Linked DNA regions of Homo sapiens: regions 1, 2 and 3 are each linked to region 4. The links are contacts of gene promoters, found by promoter capture Hi-C in blood cells and fetal thymus (Javierre and others, 2016). All regions are on one chromosome and are shown on one strand. The core of a region is centred on a gene start or on the middle of the fragment in contact, and the rest is flanking DNA. Distances in the headings are between cores, read along the strand shown. Region 1 holds the start of ACO1 (aconitase 1). Region 2 overlaps NDUFB6 (NADH:ubiquinone oxidoreductase subunit B6). Region 3 overlaps RIGI (RNA sensor RIG-I). Region 4 holds the start of C9orf72 (C9orf72-SMCR8 complex subunit).

Evidence for each region. Contacts are between HindIII fragments. The CHiCAGO score rates a contact against its expected background, and 5 or more counts as called.
Region 1: the fragment with the promoter of ACO1 here is called in contact with the fragment with the promoter of C9orf72 in region 4 in 5 of 17 cell types (non-activated CD4 T cells, total CD4 T cells, activated CD4 T cells and 2 more); the score reaches 14.3 in non-activated CD4 T cells.
Region 2: a contact is called between a fragment that was not itself captured here and the fragment with the promoter of C9orf72 in region 4, in 7 of 17 cell types (naive CD4 T cells, activated CD4 T cells, naive CD8 T cells and 4 more). The highest score is 21.0, in naive CD4 T cells.
Region 3: a contact is called between a fragment that was not itself captured here and the fragment with the promoter of C9orf72 in region 4, in 2 of 17 cell types (naive CD4 T cells and activated CD4 T cells). The highest score is 8.2, in naive CD4 T cells.

Annotation. Positions count from the first base shown.
Region 1 is chr9:32,382,910-32,387,961 of GRCh38, forward strand. ACO1 (aconitase 1) reads left to right here and starts at 1,734. Exons shown (of 21, transcript NM_002197.3): 1 at 1,734-1,826. RefSeq lists a silencer at 1,535-1,914. The HindIII fragment of the contact is 14,350 bases long and covers 1-5,052 here.
Region 2 is chr9:32,556,287-32,560,734 of GRCh38, forward strand. It overlaps NDUFB6 (NADH:ubiquinone oxidoreductase subunit B6), which reads right to left. Exons shown (of 4, transcript NM_002493.5): 3 at 2,624-2,668. It also overlaps a transcript of SMIM27 not described here. Among named protein-coding and RNA genes, the nearest start is that of TOPORS, 5.9 kb to the left of the region's middle. The HindIII fragment of the contact is 5,670 bases long and covers 42-4,448 here.
Region 3 is chr9:32,519,798-32,524,821 of GRCh38, forward strand. The region is part of intron 1 of RIGI (RNA sensor RIG-I); the gene reads right to left. Among named protein-coding and RNA genes, the nearest start is that of RIGI, 3.9 kb to the right of the region's middle. The HindIII fragment of the contact is 4,681 bases long and covers 1-4,270 here.
Region 4 is chr9:27,570,340-27,575,240 of GRCh38, forward strand. It overlaps C9orf72 (C9orf72-SMCR8 complex subunit), which reads right to left and starts at 3,142. Exons shown (of 11, transcript NM_018325.5): 1 at 3,092-3,142. RefSeq lists enhancers at 2,536-2,625, 3,224-3,751 and a silencer at 3,136-3,215. The HindIII fragment of the contact is 3,790 bases long and covers 2,583-4,901 here.

The DNA of each region.
Region 1 (5,052 bases), core at 484-2,983, 4.8 Mb after region 4:
TATAAAGCAAGAGGAGAGAGTGTAGGGAAAGACCTTAAAAAAGAGGGACAAAAGAGGGAAGAGGTGACTCCTAAGAGCGGAGGGCTGAAAAGCCAAAAGGAGGTTAACATTTCTAGGAAAACGAATCGCCAGTGTCAAATACCACAGAGTAGTGAGTAAGGACAGGAACAGAGGACAGGCCCTGGGATTCACGATCTGCACGTCACTGGTGACAACGTCCAAGAGCAACAGACTGGGGGGATGTGGAACTATTTCCTTCACGGTTTTGACCAGCGTGCTTACTAATAAATCTCAATTCCCTTCATAGCTCTGATTTGATTGTTTTCTGCGAAGGATTCTCAGTTACACGGATGTTATCATTGAACATTAGATACTTTGCTTTCCGAATGGCTGCCTCATTAAGAATCGCAATTTAGCTGGATGTGTCCTCATCGGACTTCCCCAGCCTTCTACTCACTCTCACCTTGCCCCTACTCTCCCTACCTCCCAAGGGGACTGGAGCATGATTTTTCAGGGATTGTGGTGCACCTCTGCCATATGGTGGACATTCAAAGAAAATTTAATTACTAATGTGAATGGAAAGGATTTAGGAAGTGGGTGGGAAAACAGTCTCCTCTCATATTGGAAATACAGTTACTTCCCCTTTCAAAATAAATATAAGTATTTATATTTCAAAGTTAAATATAACTAGACGATAGTTGTACCCTATAGTGCAGTATGACAGGGAAGGTGTAGGCTTTGGTGTCAAACCAACCTAAGGACTGAGTCTCAGCTGTTGCGCATTGCACACCTGCAAAGACGGGTAATATTCTTTACTTGTAAGGTGGTTGGAAGAGCTGAACTGAATAACGTGGAAAGAGTCGATCACAGGGCTTTGTGCAGAATAGGAGGGCAGTATAAAGTAGCAGGGGGGCTATTAGTACTGGCTATTGTTTACTCATCCTATAAGCTGCTTATTCAGAAAACTACAGTAACTTTCCAAATAATTTGGGCAGGAAAACCTCACCACCTTTCATCTAGAAAGATCTAATCACTTCTTTGAACGCCATTCACCCAAGAGGGCACAACTCCTACCAACATGAAAAGCAGATCTTGTGAAAGCCCACTTGCTGCCATCTCCCAGCCATTTCTCCGACTTCAGACCGGTGAACATCGTGCATTAGAAAGTGTTGTTACATGTCCAAGGAAATCTACATATAGAACTTTTGCCACGGAAATGCTGAAGTCCTATTCTGACAGCGTGACTCCGATGTCCACTTGGCAGGCTTTGCGCAAAGAATTAAGGCGAGGGTGGAGAGGGTGGGTAGGGTGGGGACGGACAAAGTGAGAAGGGAGGCGGGCCAAGTGACCACACGTACATGAAGCCTCTCCAGTTATGGCCAAATCATTTTTTAAAAATAATTCCATTTCTTCCCCACCCTTTGGTCACTTCCTAACGCCGGCTGGGGAGTCACATGCTAAGCTCCAAAGTGAGCAACAGACACCCTCGTCCCAGGTCCCATGCTGGCAGAAGCGGACCCGGGCCGAGGGATCAGCCCTCCCACTTCCAGCGGAGGAGCCCTTCGCAACCCTAGCCTCCAGCCCGGGGCGAAGTCCTCCAGGCCCGCGGGGGCGCCCGCAGGCTCCGCCCCTTCTTCGGCTAGCTGCCCGTCCGTCCCGCCCCTGCTCCGCCCTTCCCGCCCCTGCTCCGCCCATCGCGCGGCGGCCCCGGGGGCGAGAGGGGGCGGAGCGTGGAGGCGGCAGCTGGAACCGCGCAGCGCACGGGAACGCGTCCCGCTGCTTGGGTCAGGTTCGCCGGTCGCGGGAGCCCCGCCGTGCAGTCGGAGGTGAGTACCGACGCGGCCCGACCCACGTCCCCAGGCGGGAGCGCCGTCCACCCTGTATCCCTCGAGAGTCGGTGCGGGCCTTTACCGAGGTGCCCGAGGCAGTGGCGGCACGGGGGACACGGAGGCGAGCTTGGGGAGGCTGAGAGGAGAATCGGGGACGTGTTTCTGGCGACTGACGTCTCCACCCTGTCCCCAGTCTATGTCATGCCGGGGAGAGAAACCAGGGATTGGAAGTGGCTTTCCTAGACCCTTCTTAGCCTTGGCTGTGCGTGCTGTCCTGAAAGTCCTTGCCTAGGGTGTGCGGCCAGTCCTGGGAGTCCTAACCCCGAGGGTGTGAGGCCCGCACTGGGAGTCCTCGCCCAGGCCCGGCTGGCTGGATAGGGAAACCCTTGCTAAAGTTGTGCGGGCAGATCCGGGAATCCACTCCAAGGGGTAAAGGGAAAATGGGATGAGGGGGAAGAGACCCTTCGTGGGAGGCTTGAACACAGAGCCCACCATGATAGATTCAGAGATCTAGAAAGGAGCTTGGGCTGCAGTTATGACCAAGTCATTTTTTTCTAGATTCAGCTAGCACATCATAATGGCATCTTCCTTCTTGCAACACATGTAACTCTCTTCCCTGGGGGACAACCTCTAGGACAGAAGTCCCCAAACTTTTCTGGTACTCAGTACTCCTTTACACTCTTAAAAATTAGTATCTTAAGGAGCTTTTATGTGTGTTATATCTATCCATATTTATAATATGTAAGTAAGACTGAGAAATTTGTACTATAATAATTCATTTAAAAAGAATAGTGAACTAATTATATCTTAACATTGCCTATTTTTATGAAAAAGAACTATATTTCCCAAAACAGAAAATGATTGAGAAGAGTGGCATTGTTTTACATTTTTGCAAATCTCTTTGATGTCAAGCGTAATTGAAGACAGCTGGATTCTGATAGCTGCTTCTGCAGTCTGTTGCAATATCACATATCATGTAGCCTCTTGAGACCTCCACTGTATACTCCTGAAAATGTGTGAATGAAAAAAAGCAAGTAACATTTTATTACTAGGAAAATGGTTTTGACTTTGGAGATCCCTAGGAGTTCTCTGCACCACACTTTGAGGATGCTGGTGTAGGAAATGCTTCAGAGGCTTCATTCATTGGGCCTGCTTCTTGTTTGTGATCCTTCCTCTGATTGGGAACACACACCACCTCATGCCATGGACAGTATTAACCTCTGGTATCTGGAACCAAGTTTGATCTCACTTTGGAAACCATGTACTAGGTCCCCACGTGAGGCTGTGATGAACCTTGCCAGCCTCCTGAAAAGTCAGCAAGGCTTCGCACATGCCTTTGGTTGTCTCTGTGCTTGCAGAGCTGACCTGTCTGTGCATCAGGATTACAACAGTGATGTGGCAAACAGGACCTGTAGGCTCACAAAAGTGCCAGTGGGGAGACCATGCCAAGTGTGTAGGGGTTCCTGTGAGAGTTACCAAGTAGTCAGGAAGTTATTTCCAAAAGAACAAGGAGGCATGCTTTTGCCTTCCCTTGCACGTGTTCATTTCTGTTTGCAGTTGCATGGTTATTAGCCTTGAGTTTATTGGAATAATGATTTCCAGTCTTGACGTTCTTTCACTTTCCACTTTCAGAGGGTGTCACTCTGAGTGGTGCTTCCTCAGCCCCTGTCAAAAAGCAGTTTCCACCATCCTGGAGTGTGGTAGGTGAGGTCCTTCACGGGACTCTTTCCTTAGCTTCGTGCCTTGTCAGAACAAGTTCAAGACAGATGTTATGTGTATATATTTGGGAGGAAGAAATTTTCTAACTCCATCCTCCCTTTTGTTCCTTCATCCATAGAGCCTCTTGTGCTCTGATGGATCAGTTTAAATGCTACAGCCGATACTTGAGAAATGTTGCATGCACATGAGCGTGTTGTGTGTGTTGCACAGTCCACAGGTGAGGAGGAGGAGAAGTCCACAGGAGAAGGAAATGGGATCTAAACTCTGAGCACCTGCTGTGTTCTTTGTATTAAAAAATTCCACTTTGATGGTGGGGTCTCATTCCTTCATTCTTTCAGTAGATTTTTATTGGCCACCTATTTCTCATGTGTCCAGTTATGTGCGGGATGCCAGGAAAGTAGTGAGCACAAAAGATGCAGTCCCTGTCTTTCTGGCAATTATGGTCTGATAGCTTTGATAACTGCTGGTTAATTGAGATAGTCTATTATATAGTCAGAGTGTGTACATGAAAGCTGGTCCTGTGTGAAGAGCAGTACCCCCTACCTAAAGTGTGCTTCAAAGGCATGTGCTGAAGAAACCAGTCCCACACTGTGAAGATGATGATAAAAACCAACGTGTATCACCACGTGCCTGGCAAAGAACTTCCTTTGCCTTCTTTCCCCCACTCTTCCTTCTACATAGGAAGTAATTTCCTGTGAGGCAGCCAGATTCACAGGGAAATTACCTCCAACCTGGTGCCAGTCACTGGGCCAGCCTCGGGTTAAGACACTTTCTCTGGGTCTCAGTGTCTTTGACTTTAAAATGAGGAGTTAGGCCATTGATAGTAAGTGTCCCAAGGAGCCAGTGGTTTCAGAGCTGGTTTATACTAGCATTTGTGCATATCTCTTCCTAACTCCGTGTTCAGTGGCAACACATTTTTTAGATTGAAATAAGCCATGGTGGGAATAATAACACCATGGAAATTGGCAAATGCTACATCAGAGCTTTTTTTTCCTCTTGGAGTTCAAGTTGTTAAACCTTTGCCAGCTGACACTGCTATTGTCTGAGCCAAGGTGCTTTTGGTTTGTTTTTTTAGTAGAAAACAGACTCTTTAGCCTAGACAAAGATCCTAGATATAGGGTGTATGATTCAAGTCCTCTAAAATTTTTGATAAGGAAAAAAATCTGTTTTCATCATATTCTAAAATATAGATCAGCAAACTTTTTGTGTAAAGGGACAGGTAGTGAAATATTTTAGGCTTTTTGGGTTATGGTTATACAGTTTCTATTGCAGCTACTCAGCTCTGGTGTTGAAGCACGAAAGCGGCAATAGACAACATGCAAACAAACAAGCATGGCTGTGTTCCAGTCAAACTTGATTTACAAAAACAAGGGCCAGCCATAGTTTGCAGACTCCTGACCTAGACTATCAGAACAAGAACCATGTTTCAAAGAGAGAGTTTTATGGAAAAGGAGATTCTTCAGGACTTTATGCGTGAATACCAGAAACTTGAGTCTCCAAGATG
Region 2 (4,448 bases), core at 1,627-4,126, 5.0 Mb after region 4:
AGCTAACAGAATTTGAGCAGAAGTGATGTAAGCTACTTCTAAGCTTAGATCCTAAAAATCATCCCCTGAGACATCCTGCCGTATCTTTGTATCACAATCTTGGAACCTCATATTCGATAGGCACGGCTGTAAGATTGAGGAAGATCACCTGATTCACAGTAGTCTGTGATGTCAACAAGAAATAAACCTCTGTTTTGTTAAGCCATTGAGATTTGGAAGTTTGTTATTACTTGTCCTATTCTAAACATATATACAATGAGCATTCTTCAGTTCCTCAAAGGGGTCATGGCACAGAAACAAGAAAGAACCACAGTGGCAAAAAATACAGAAATATGAGAAATGCTACAGGATCCCTGATATGGTCTTCTGAATAGAGCTCTCCTTTTCCTTTGAACAGTAAATGGCAAAATAAATTAACATTTAAATGGAATAAATGGAAGACTAAATAAATATAAATTGCCCAGCTGGAAAAACCAGCAAGATAATTTCCTATTTTGAGACTACCTAGGCTGTAACACACATCAATGTTACACAATAAAACAAAAGGAGAAATCCCCTACTTTTTTTTTTTTTTTTTTTTTTTTTTGAGGCAGGGTGCTCTGTCGCTAAGGCTGGAGTGCAGTGGCGCAATCTTGGCTCACTGCAACCTCTGCCTCCCAGGTTCAGGCAATTCTTGTGCCTCAGCCTCCCCGGTAGCTAGGATTACAGGCGTGCACCACCATGCCCAGCTAATTTTTGTATTTTTATTAATAGTAGAGATGGAGTTTCACCATGTTGGCCAGGCTGGTCTCAAAATCCTGACCTCAGGTGATCCACCTGCCTCTGCCTCCCAAAGTGCTGGCATTACAGGTGTTAGCCACCGCGCCTGGCCCCCACTTTTTTTTTTTTTTTTTCCCGAGACAGAGTCTCACTCTGTGACCCAGGCTGGAGTGCAGTGGCGCAAACTCCGCACACTGCAACTTCTGCCTTCCAGGTTCAAGCAATTCTTGTGCCTCAGCCTCCAGGTAGCTGGGATTACAGGCGTGCACCACCACACCTGGCTAATTTTTGTATTTTTTTTTTAGTACAGATGGTGTTTCACCATGTTGGCCAGGCTGGTCTCGAACCCCTAGCCTCAAGGGATCCACCCACCTCGGCTTCCCATAGTGCTGTAATTACAGGCATGAGCCCCCGATACCCCCTACTTTTTTTTTTCCTTTTTCCTTTTTTTTTGAGATGGAGTTTCACTCATTTCTGAGGCTGGAGTGCAGTGCCACGATCTCAGCTCACTGCAACCTCCGCCTTCCAGTTTCAAGCAATTTTCCTGCCTCAGCATCCTCAGTAGCTGGGATTACAGGTGCCCGCCACCACGCACGGTAATTTTTGTATTTTTAGTAGAGACGGGGTTTCACCATGTTGGCCAGGCTGGTCTCGAAGTTCTGACCTTGTGATCCACCCACCTTGGCCTCCCAAAGTGCTGGGATTACACGCGTGAGCCACCGCGCCTGGCCCCTCCCCCAACTATTTCTTAAACCAGCGTTCCAACTGGGACCGCTGGCCAGTTTTGGTGGCCCTTCCTAAAATTCCCCTGTTGCAACAGATAATCATTACTGTGACTAAGTCATTTGATTAAAGCAAGAATCACACTTTTGTTATTTAAATTGTGTACTTTTGAGTTATGATAGTTCATTATCTGTGACTAGAAATAGACAAGAACATAGTATGTATTCTACTATGCTAAACAATAACCTCACAAACAGCTAGTAAATACCAACTGACTACTGAGTCACCTTTTAATGCTAAAATAACTCATTTCAAATTAGTACTATAGCTCACACATTCATAGTATACATTTTTTTTTTTTGAGACGGAGTCTCGCTCTGTCACCCAGGCTGGAGTGCAGTGGCGCAACCTCGGCTCACTGCAAGCTCCACCTCCCAGGTTCACGCCATTCTCCTGCCTCAGCCTCTCGAGTAGCTGGGACTACAGGCGCCCGCCACCACGCCCAGCTAATTTTTTGTATTTTCAGTAGAGACGGGGTTTCACCGTGTTAGCCAGAATGGTCTCGATCTCCTGACCTCACGATCCACCCATCTTGGCCTCCCAAAGTGCTGGGATTACAGGCATGAGCCACTGTGCCTGGCCCATAGTATAAAATTTAAAACACCCATTAGTGGATATTAAATTCACAGATGGAGAACTTAAGGTCAAATCTTGAAAATGAGGTACAAAGCCATAGGACATGAGAGTTTGGAATTAATAACAGAAATTCAGTTGCTGTCACCATGCATGGATGTTTGCTTAGGCTCATGCCCTAAGCTCTTTACCCAACATGAAACAGGACACAGTGAAAAACTTTTGGTACTTTCAACTCCCTTTAGGAAAATCAAGGTCACAAAACACGTTTTACAGCCAGGTTGAAAATAAATGTGCTCACTTCCCATTTGAACTGTAATTGTTACCTCACGGTATTTCTTCCTGTTTTTTTTTGTTTTGTTTTGTTTTTTACAAGAATACACAAAACAGGGACTTAAACCGAAAGTGAGAAGGAAAGAACATTTTAATCTAATAATTGCTTGGAAAGGGAGGAAAAGGAAAGAGAAAAACAATAAACAAAAGAAAAATCAGAAGTGTTAAGACTTACAGGGAATATTCTGGACTTCTTTTCAACTATGCCATATGGTTTTTCCTGTAATAAAAGTTAACTCTGTGTTAATTATGGTGTTAAGAGTTTCTTCTGAAAATAAGAAATAGGTCATACCCCAAATTTTAACTTAAGCTCCAAACTTTCACAGAACTCCAGATTCACATATCCAACTGTTTACTCAACATCTCTACTTAGCTATCAAACAGGCATCTCAAACTTAACCAGGTCCCACACTTAACTTCTCCCATCCCCAAACTGTTCCTCCCCATGTCCCCCATCTCAGTAAATGACACTCTTATTCCCCCAGTTATGAAAGACAGAAACCTTGACTCCTCAGCAGAGCCTGTTAATTCTATCTTAAGAATATACCCTGAATCCAACTGGTTCTCATCACCAGCCTTGTCCAAGCCTCTATCATATTTTCACCTCAACTACCACAACAGCACCTACTAGCCTCCCTGCTTCCACTTGTGCCCTCCTATGCAAATGAAAAGTCTATTCTCCACACTTCAAGGCAGAGTACACTGATTCTTTTAAGATATGTCACTCTGCTCAAAGTTTCATAATTCTTAGAGAAAAAGCCAGTCTTTTCTCCCTCACTTACTCTACTACAGCCACAGTGGCTCCATTCCTAGGAGTCCAATTCAGTCAAGCCTGCTTGTGCCTCAAGGCCTCTGTACTTCATGATTCCTCTACCTGAAATGCTCTTCTCCTAAATACTGCTTGACCTGTATCTTCATTTCATTTATGTTTGTCTTCAAAGATCACTTCCTCAGAGAGGCCTAATTAAAATAGCAAGCCTTATCATTCTCTAGTTTTTACCCTGCTTAATTTTTCTTCTATAGACTTGTTCTCCTATAACATTAATATACCTCTTTGTTTATATATTTATTACCAGTCTCTAAAACTAAACATTTCATGAGGGGAGGGACTCAATCTGCTCTGTTCACTGCTGTATCCTGGTCTTTAAAACAATGCCTTGCACATAAGAGGTACTACATAAGTAATTGTTGAATACATGTACTTTTTATGCATATACATCTGCACAAGATACCACTGCCCAAAATTTAAAAGATTATTGGCATGATATGAGGCATAGAGAACTGGAACATGAGAGAAACTCAGAATACAATGTGAGCACTTTAAAATGTCTTTACGTGCTAAAAGGCAAAAAGACACTGAAAAGTCATCTGAGAGATGCAGAATTCAATTAGGCAGCAAAGGAGTGAGCTGAAGCAAACTGGTTGCAATCTTATTGAAGATGCAATCCTTTACCTACCAAAATCAAGAGAAAAAGTAAGGTAAGTGAGTGGCTCTGGGACCTCTACTGACACAAAATGTTTAACTAAATATGTCCATCTATGGCTCAGGAAAAATCACCTGGAAGTGTGAACCCTCAGATAAGCAACCACATTACTGTATTAAATTGTCAACCTAGTGACTGCAGTTTGTTAAATTTGCTTCTCTTAGAAATGTCTTTTCGATCCCAGAAAAATGTAGTTAAATTTAGATATGATAAAGTAAGTTAAACCCAGAGTATAAATAAGTGAATGTGTCAACTTTTAAAAGTTCTGAAAACATTGCTACATTCCATACATTCTGTTGATCAGAGTTTGTAATGTGTAAGATAATCTGGCTAACAGAGGTTTTAAAAAATTAGGTTTAGGATTCTAGTTAAAATGCATAATTGATTTGTGATTCTAGGTTGAAAAAAATTACTTCTTAGAATCATAAATTTACCATATAAATACTTCGAAATAAAATTGAACACACAAAATGTATAAATACAATTTAAAATATTTAACAGAATTTAGCTATGTTT
Region 3 (5,024 bases), core at 680-3,179, 4.9 Mb after region 4:
ATAAAAAAAATTATAAGACTTTCTAGTGTTTTTTTTATCCTAAGCCATTTATCACTGATGGGCCTTCACATGTATACTTGAAAACAAAATATGTACATACAAGTGTTATGCCAGTTTGAAGATTCTAGTGGTGTAAGTCACTTAAATCAGTTGTCAGTACTTTATCTAGAAACCAATCTTGGAAATGTATGATGAGGCTCTTTCAAAATAGCTGAAAAGAAATTACTGTGTGCTTATTGTCACTTTGTCCTTGTTTTGTTGTATACTTTTTAAATGAAAGATTTATCTTCATATTGAATTTCCAAAACTGATACTTGCATTTACCATTTTTTTTTTTAATGATGGAAAGAAAAGTTAACTATCTTACTTTGGTAAGTTTGGCACAGGACTTACCACATTTTTGAGGCTCTAGGTCACAGTTTTGTCACTAGAATGCTAGCAGATAAATGCAAGGAGTAACCTAACCACTTTAATACAATGGATTGTATAATGGGTTGAAGTGTTTCAGACAGTAACTACTAGGCACCAAATCCCAGGGTTTTATTTTGTGACATATTAGAGAGAATGATGAGGTTTCCTGCAGTATAAATATGCTATTAAATAATTCTTAGGAAACAATTATTTAGTAATTCAAAGGCCTTTGACTCCTGGATCCAAAAAAGACACCAATACCTGCTAAATCTTGAGCACTGACACCAAATGAAGCCTCGTCTTCAGACTCAGGAGAAGGTGACAATCAAAATGAACTGCTTTCATGAGACATAGGGCTAGAAATTAAAACCATTCAATCCCTCTACGCCCAGGAACTATTGCACAAAAGGTGAGCACGTGAGCTTGTAAGGGCTGATTTTGAGTTATAAAATTAGTTCAGGGTTTTTCTATAAATTAAACATTAACATCAAAAGCACACTGATGCAAGGCCAATGTCTGGGCCCCTGTGTCATAACAGGGTTTTCTTGGAGCATTACTCTACTCTTTAATAGGAAATCGTAAAACGTTATAAAAAGATGGCTGGGTGTGGTGGCTCAGGCTGGGCGTGGTGGCTCAGGCCGGGGCTGGTGACTCAGGCCGGGTGTGGTGGCTCACGCCTGTAATCCCAGCACTTTGGGAGGCCGAGGCAGGCGGATCAGCTGAGGCCACGAGTTGGAGACCAGCCTGGCCAACATGGTGAAACCCCGTCTCTACTAAAAATACAAAAATTAGCCAAGTGTGGTGGCATGGCCTGTAATCCCAGCTACTAGGGAGGTTGAGGCAGGAGAATTGCTTGAACCCAGGAGGCAGAGGTTGCAGTGAGCCAAGATCGCACCACTGTAGCCTGGGCAACAGAGCCAGACACCATCTCAAAAAAAAAAAAAAAAAAAAAAACTTCACAGAAATCCTATCTTATAGTCAAACTGATTAAAATTCGGCTTATAAGGTTTTATTAAAATTAGCTTTAACATTAAAAATATACCATACAAAGGTAAAATTTGATGTTCTCTTTTGAATAAAATGTTTGTATAATATTGACATAAAATATTTGTTTACCTTTTGAGTGAACTGTGGGGGGAAGAAAAGGAAGAGGGAGAGACATTTAGTTGGCCTCATGCTGTCTTTATTAGGCCTTATTGTTGGGAAACTGAGTCGCCTATCAAAGGGTAAATGTGTTTGTTTTATCTTTTTGGCTAAATGAATAACTATTTTGTAGCGACCTGTGATCCTATTTTGTGATATCAAGTGTCTTAAATCTTTGATACTGACAGACTTCCCAACAGCAAATATTTCAAGTTCTAAATTCAGGGGGTTTTTTTTAACCTCAAACTAACTTTTTTGTGTATTAGCTTCCTTGAATTCCAATACAGACAGACATGTTAGGCTTCTTTGGTATATTAGAATTATACAGGCAGCATTATCAAATGTGAGGTGGTATTTAACTTCCTTTGGGTTATATTTGTATAGATGTGCTATTAATATGTGTTGCAGGACTATATGAGATTCCTAAAATTCTGATATGTCTTAATATATGGTGTCAGTAATGATGATTATTATGTTAAATTGTTGTATGCCAACAGAAAAAAAAATTTCCTTGTCAACTGTGTCTTTATGGCTCTCCTAAGACTTTTGTCATTGCAATTGTTGTTTTGCATTGATTCTTTTCAAAAAGTGACTTATAATCAGATATAGTCCAGAGCTTGTTTATTTAGGGGACTTCATGAAAAGGAGTCTTGAATGCAGATTTCTGATAACTTTGGAGACTGTGCCACTGGAATACAGAAAACTTCTAGGACTCTTAATTAGAGTCCCTCTTAATTAAAAGGCTGACATGTTTATAAAGATTACTAACCCAATATGAAACACAGCAGGAGTTGATTGCATGGACTGAACTAATGTGGGACTGAAATAATTTTTTATGGTTTTGTTTGAAAAAGTCTGGAGAATTTTTGTTTTTTGGAATCTGGAGAATTTTTTCTTTTAAGCTCTTCATAACCTTTAAGAATACAGTATATTAAGTAGAGTATACCCTTTTAAACAGAATTTGAGGCATTTTCTCTCTCCCTAATTTCTCCAGAATTTATAAACTATTTGTGAATATTCTTAGTTCATGGCAATGTGTTTTCTTGCATACATTTAATAAAAATCTGTTTTCTTTTATAAGGGGACACAGTTGGAGGAACAAGTTATTTTCCCAGGGCTTTGACTGAAATGGCCTTGTGAGAGGTTCCAGCAAAGCCAATTAGGAGAGCCCATATGGACAATAATTTTTGCTGCACTTTGTGTGGGTAAATAAGCCAAGTATATGTAACTGAGGCTTATTTTGCAGGTAGGCCCATCCAGCTGTGATATGTCTTTGGTGGAAGCGGGGAACAGTAATGATACAGATTGTGTCTCAGAAGAAAACTATAGTATTAGATTAACTTTTGATTCCTGGATGGCCACGTGGTCACCCATAGTATGGAACTGCCCACCACGCCATTCCTCAGCATGAAGCTGCCAGAAAGATTGAGGATCAGATTCCCCATGATCCAGGAATTGATAAATAGAAAGAGGGGGACTGAAACCAACACAATAGTCCCATATACAATTCTTTCGAATAAACATGGAAATTGACCCTCCTGATCTTAAAGCTGAAACTTATATTTGTTTTATCTGAGTTCCTTCCCCAGGAAAAGGACCCCCAGGCCTCTCAAAAGGTATAAAAGAACTGAAACTCATCAGACCATCACATCCAGACAATGAGACACCAGGCCCCTCATTTATCATGATTGCTTCCTTACCCCTCCAGAGTCCATTTTCCAACACCTAGTTATATTTCTTTCCTTCTATCCATACCCCTAATTTCAACGGGTCAGGGAGATGGATTTGAGACTGATCTCCTACCTCCTTTGCTGCAGCTCCCAATTAAAGCCTTGGCAAAACTTGTTGTCTCAGTGATTGGCTTTATGTGCAGCCAGCAAAAGAACCTAGGCTGAATCCCTGGTGTTTCAGTAACAATTGCACCCACTCTCATTGTTTCAGCAAGGATCTCCACATTAATGTCTCCCCAACTGTGGACCCTTTTCCTGAACTCCACACCTGTGCAGCCAACAATCTGATGAACATCTCTTCATGGATGTATCCAAGGCATACAAACCCAGCATACCTAAATCCGAATTTTTCTCCTCCTCCTGCAAACCTGTCCCTCTTCCCACATTTCCTATCTCAGAAACTACCATTTATTCACCCAAGGACCAAAGCCAGAGACCTGGAAGTCATTTCCACCCTGTCCTCACCCTTACCTCCTCACCACAACTCCCCAAGAGACCTATTGATTATACTTTCCAAATGTGTCTTGAATCCATCCATTTCTCCCCATTCCTCCGGATTCCTATTTTCCTAACTGGTATCCTTGCTTCCAGTTTTTCCACTCTGCTGTCCTGGCATCATTGCATCTGCCATTCTCTCTCTCCCTGTCTTGTACCTATTCAAGCCATTCCTCAAACTGAAGTCAAAGTCGTTTTTCTACAATGCAAATTCTATTTTGGTCCCCTCTCCTTATCACATTTCAGTGGATAAAGTCCAAAACTGTTCATATCCCACTTCTGCTTGCCTGTCAAGTTTCATCTCTCTGAACTCCTGCCTCTCTCTCCACAATGCCACCATACTAATATTTTCTGGATACCTGGAACACTCTAGTTTCTCTTTCACCTTGGACCTTTGCACATAAGGAGCCCTCTAACTGCAATTTATTGTCTCCTTCCAGCTAATTTTTCCTCTTTCTTTAGACCTCAGTTCAAATGCCAAATATCTGGGAAGCTTTGGCTGTGCCCTTTGGACTCTAGTAGACATCCCAGCTTTTTTCCATCAAAGCACTGCTGCACTTTATTATTTACTATTTTGTTACCTGCATTCACATAGACACACTAATCACTATTAGGGCAGGGACAGTTTCTACTGTGCTCATCATTGCTTCCTCAACTTTCAATGACACTATTAGGTAATAGGTGCTGAGTAAATTACCTCCAATGCTAACATAATACTGACACGAGTTGCTTATTTTATTCCATCAAAGTGTATCAAATCAATATATGAGTGCATGAAAAAATGGAATTCACACCAGTTGTTAGTGTTTCTTCCAAGTACTTCTTCAGGTGCCAAGCTACACTGGTCACTAGAATGCCATTCCACAACCTTTCTTTTAGTTTTGTAGAGCAATTAGCATTCAAGTTAGTTGCCGGTCTTAACGCCATTTCCAAAAACTGCAATAACATCAGGAAAGACTGGCACTTGGAGACTTTTAGGATTCCCAGGCCCCCTCTCATCGACTTTTTTTTGTTTTTCGGTTTTTTTTTTTTTTTTTTTTTTTTTTTTGGAGACAAGAGTCTCACGATGTCACCCAGGCTGAGTGCAGTGGTGCGATCTCACCATAACCTCTGCCTCCCTGGTTCAAGCGATTTTCATTCCTCAGCCTCCTGAGTAGCTGGGACTACAGGAGTGCACCACTACGCCTGGCTAATTTTGTATTTTTCGGTAGAGACGGGGTTTCACCATATTGGCCAAGCTGGTCT
Region 4 (4,901 bases), core at 1,892-4,391:
AATTATATTGCAAACATATTTTTCTTTCATTCTTTTAGGTTAAAAAGGTGGATAATCATAAAGGCAATATTACAACTCTAATATTTCATCATTAAACTGAAAATAAAAGTATTTCCTAAAACAGAACTGAACCCTGGAGCAAAATCTGATTGAATTATAGGGAAACTTTTACCACGTTGTGAAAATTGAACTATTATACTGCTAGTTACACTCTCACTCCTAACAGAATAAGAAAAAAAAAATGGGCCGGGCATGGTGGGTCACACCTGTTATCCCAGCTCTTTGGTAGGCCGAGGCAGGTGGATCACCTGAGGTCAGGAGCTCAAGACCAGCCTGGCCAACATGGTGAAACCCCACCTCTACTAAAAATACAAAAAATTAGCCGGGTGTGGTGGTGGACACCTGTAATCCCAGCTACTCGGGAGGCTGAGGCAGGAGAATCTCTTGAACCCGGAGGTGGCAGAGGTTGCAATGAGCTGAGATGGCGCCACTGCACTCCAGCCTGGGCGACAGAGAGAGACTCTGCCTCAAGAAAAAAACAAACAAACAAACAAACAAAAAGAATAAGAAAGAAAATGAAGGACAAAGATCATACTGAATTGCTTAGTTTTAAATCCTACCAAAAGAAATAGCCTGGGAAATGAAATGTCACAGAGAAGTATAATCAGGAGAGCTGTACAATTATTTTACTAATACTTGAAGTCATCGTCTTTGGTGAGAAAAATCCATACATGCAAATGCAGCTGAAAAAAATCAGCTCAAAACCAATAGTTGTTTATGTACCTATCTTACGTACATGTAGTGCTGTCTACTCCAGAGAGTTACCAAACATTAGCCAGTCTTTTGAGGGAAGCCAAGATTCAAATTGAGTGAGACGGTGGCTTGCTCACAGGGTTCATGAGAGGTTTCCCAATACACTTTCTGGAAATAATCCCATACATGCAGACATGATTACATTAATTAACATCTGCTAAAACTGTTAGTAGAGTGCTAAGTTTGAGGTTTTGCTTTTTCTTTAAACGTCTGTTAAAAAATCAACCATCTCTTCCCTGATTGGTATTTAGAAAGGTGGTTGGTCCACTGCTATTGTAGTGAAAATTCTACAATCATAAAGCCCTCACTTCTTGTTTTTTAGAGACAGGGTCTCGTTTTGTCATCCAGGCTGGAATGCACTGGCAGGATCATAGCTCTCGGTAACTTCAAACTCTTGGGCTCAAATGACCCTCCTGCCTCAGCCTCCCAAGTAGCTAGGACTACAGGTGCACATCACCACGCCCGGCTAAGTTTTTAATTTTTTGTAGAGACAGGGTCTACGTTGCCCAGGTTGAGCTTGAACTCCTGGCTTCAAGTGATCCTCTTGCCTCCGCCTCCCAAAGCTCTGGCATTACAGGTGTAAGCCACCTTCTCCAACCTGGCTCTCAATACTTGTAACCATGCTGTTTATTTTCTCCCAGCCCAAAGAGAAGCAGGATCCTAAACCGTCCACTTTCCACAACAGGAGCTGCCCAGGACCACTTCAAGGACAGTGAACTGTTTACAGTACCAGAAAGTTCACAACACTTTCTCAATCTTCAACATCAGGGAAGACTGGAAGGTGAAGTTCATATCACTATCTGGCCATTTCTCACAGTTCCAAGTTTCTCAGACAATAGGTAGGCTAACCTAGTCCTCCTGGGAACTATCTAATTAACGTAGAATAGAACCCGAGGGCAGACTTGAAAAACAGAAGTCCTCCTTGGTTTACTTTGTTTCTCTGAAAGCAAATTGTGGAGTGCCAACATAGCCAAACAAAATATTTTATCAACTTCATAAGGTGCTTGTAATTTTTTCCTGGAGCAGGTAAATGCTGGCTTAGTGAACAATCTGGAATGTGGTAATTACTCTCGTTCTTGTTTCAGATGTACTATCAGCATGTAGCAGTTTCCAACTGATTCAGGGTTTTCCTAAAGTGGCAGGCCTTGGCAGAGGTGGTGACAACAATGCCCGTGTCAAATGACACCGTATTTCAAGTATTCTGACTCCAGGTTATTAATATCCCCTATATGATAGTCTTGTTTCTGTGATATTCACAGATTATGTTAAAAGTTTCCCAAAGTCTGAGAAAAATCATATCTTAACAGTATCTTTTTTTTTTTTGATCCTTTGTACAAAAGTAGAAGTAATGCCAGACAGATTACGTACCCTTGTTGTGAACAACTGGTGCATGGCAACTGTTTGAATAGAAATTTACCAACTGCCACAACCAGGCAACTACTCTCCCAGAGCCTAACAATCTCGATTGCATCTGAAAGGGCCACCCCTCCTGGGAAAGTGCAGGACCTCCCTCCTGTTTCTGAATACAAAGCCTGGTGGTGTTCAACGCGGCCAGATAGACCCAATGAGCACACGGACATGTAATCTGTGCACTTCTTTAGACAACTGATTACCATCAGTCAAGTGATGCCCAAGTCACAATAGTCACTTCCTTTAAGCAAGTCTGTGTCATCTCGGAGCTGTGAAGCAACCAGGTCATGTCCCACAGAATGGGGAGCACACCGACTTGCATTGCTGCCCTCATATGCAAGTCATCACCACTCTCTAGAAGCTTGGGCTGAAATTGTGCAGGCGTCTCCACACCCCCATCTCATCCCGCATGATCTCCTCGCCGGCAGGGACCGTCTCGGGTTCCTAGCGAACCCCGACTTGGTCCGCAGAAGCCGCGCGCCGCCCACCCTCCGGCCTTCCCCCAGGCGAGGCCTCTCAGTACCCGAGGCTCCCTTTTCTCGAGCCCGCAGCGGCAGCGCTCCCAGCGGGTCCCCGGGAAGGAGACAGCTCGGGTACTGAGGGCGGGAAAGCAAGGAAGAGGCCAGATCCCCATCCCTTGTCCCTGCGCCGCCGCCGCCGCCGCCGCCGCCGGGAAGCCCGGGGCCCGGATGCAGGCAATTCCACCAGTCGCTAGAGGCGAAAGCCCGACACCCAGCTTCGGTCAGAGAAATGAGAGGGAAAGTAAAAATGCGTCGAGCTCTGAGGAGAGCCCCCGCTTCTACCCGCGCCTCTTCCCGGCAGCCGAACCCCAAACAGCCACCCGCCAGGATGCCGCCTCCTCACTCACCCACTCGCCACCGCCTGCGCCTCCGCCGCCGCGGGCGCAGGCACCGCAACCGCAGCCCCGCCCCGGGCCCGCCCCCGGGCCCGCCCCGACCACGCCCCGGCCCCGGCCCCGGCCCCTAGCGCGCGACTCCTGAGTTCCAGAGCTTGCTACAGGCTGCGGTTGTTTCCCTCCTTGTTTTCTTCTGGTTAATCTTTATCAGGTCTTTTCTTGTTCACCCTCAGCGAGTACTGTGAGAGCAAGTAGTGGGGAGAGAGGGTGGGAAAAACAAAAACACACACCTCCTAAACCCACACCTGCTCTTGCTAGACCCCGCCCCCAAAAGAGAAGCAACCGGGCAGCAGGGACGGCTGACACACCAAGCGTCATCTTTTACGTGGGCGGAACTTGTCGCTGTTTGACGCACCTCTCTTTCCTAGCGGGACACCGTAGGTTACGTCTGTCTGTTTTCTATGTGCGATGACGTTTTCTCACGAGGCTAGCGAAATGGGGCGGGGCAACTTGTCCTGTTCTTTTATCTTAAGACCCGCTCTGGAGGAGCGTTGGCGCAATAGCGTGTGCGAACCTTAATAGGGGAGGCTGCTGGATCTGGAGAAAGTGAAGACGATTTCGTGGTTTTGAATGGTTTTGTTTGTGCTTGGTAGGCAGTGGGCGCTCAACACATAATTGGTGGATGAAATTTTGTTTTTACCGTAAGACACTGTTAAGTGCATTCAAAACTCCACTGCAAACCCTGGTAGGGGACAGCTCCGGCACTGCGGGCGGGAATCCCACGGTCCCCTGCAAAGTCATCGCAATTTTGCCTTTACATGTAAGAATTCTCTCAAGCATGATTTTCACACTGGGGAATGTCATTTTTGCTAGTTGCAATATGTGGATGAGTTGTTTTTTTTTAACTTTTGAAAAACGTACCATTCTGTTTGATGTGTAAAAAACACAAAGATTTTTGAAACCTTGCGTCTTTTGGTCTGCAGGTGTATAGATTCCACTTACTACAGATGAGTAGCATTTACACCACTCAGATGTGTAAAAAAACAAAGGTTTTTTAAACTGTGTGCCTTTTGATCTGCAAGTGTGAGATGGCACTTACTACAGTGAGTAGCATTTAATCTTTTTCATCACTAAAAATCACACAGAACGTTTTAATCATTCACCGAGGAAGAAAGGGAGGAATAAATACACAAAATGGCTCTCAACGTCTACACCTTCTGCAGAAACAGACCCTTTTCCTACTGTTCTATGCTTTGTGAAAGTTGATCATACAAATTGGGTCATTCTTTTTATACCCAACTAAAATAGTGGGGGTAGGGGGTAGAAAAGCACTTAGGACAAATGACACTGCTCCCACAGTGTAATTCTCTCCAAGTCCAGCTGCTGCAACTGCCCGTTGTGACCTGAGACCAGTTTTATCTAATAGTTGCTAAAATGACCTGCTGCAGCTCTAATTTTATCTACCACCATCACTCACCAGTTGAAACTCACCAGCTCCTCAGATCCTTAATAGTGCCAATGAATTTTCTCAAAGAGCACTATGTAACATTTCTCTTTTTTAACAAAACCTCCCCCTTTTCTTTGTTGTGTGGATATACCGAAGACCATCTGATCTACATGTATGCCCTAATTGCAATTCTTTCTTCCCAAATAAATCACTTAATTTAGAGATTCATCTCTGTATTTTTATTTTGACTGACAGCTTATAACAAGTAGCTAGCATTTACCAAGTTTCTACACTGAGTTGTACTTCACTTATACGTGGAATTAAAAAACAACTGAATTTATAGAAACAGAGTAGACCCTTGGTTGGGGGGCTTGG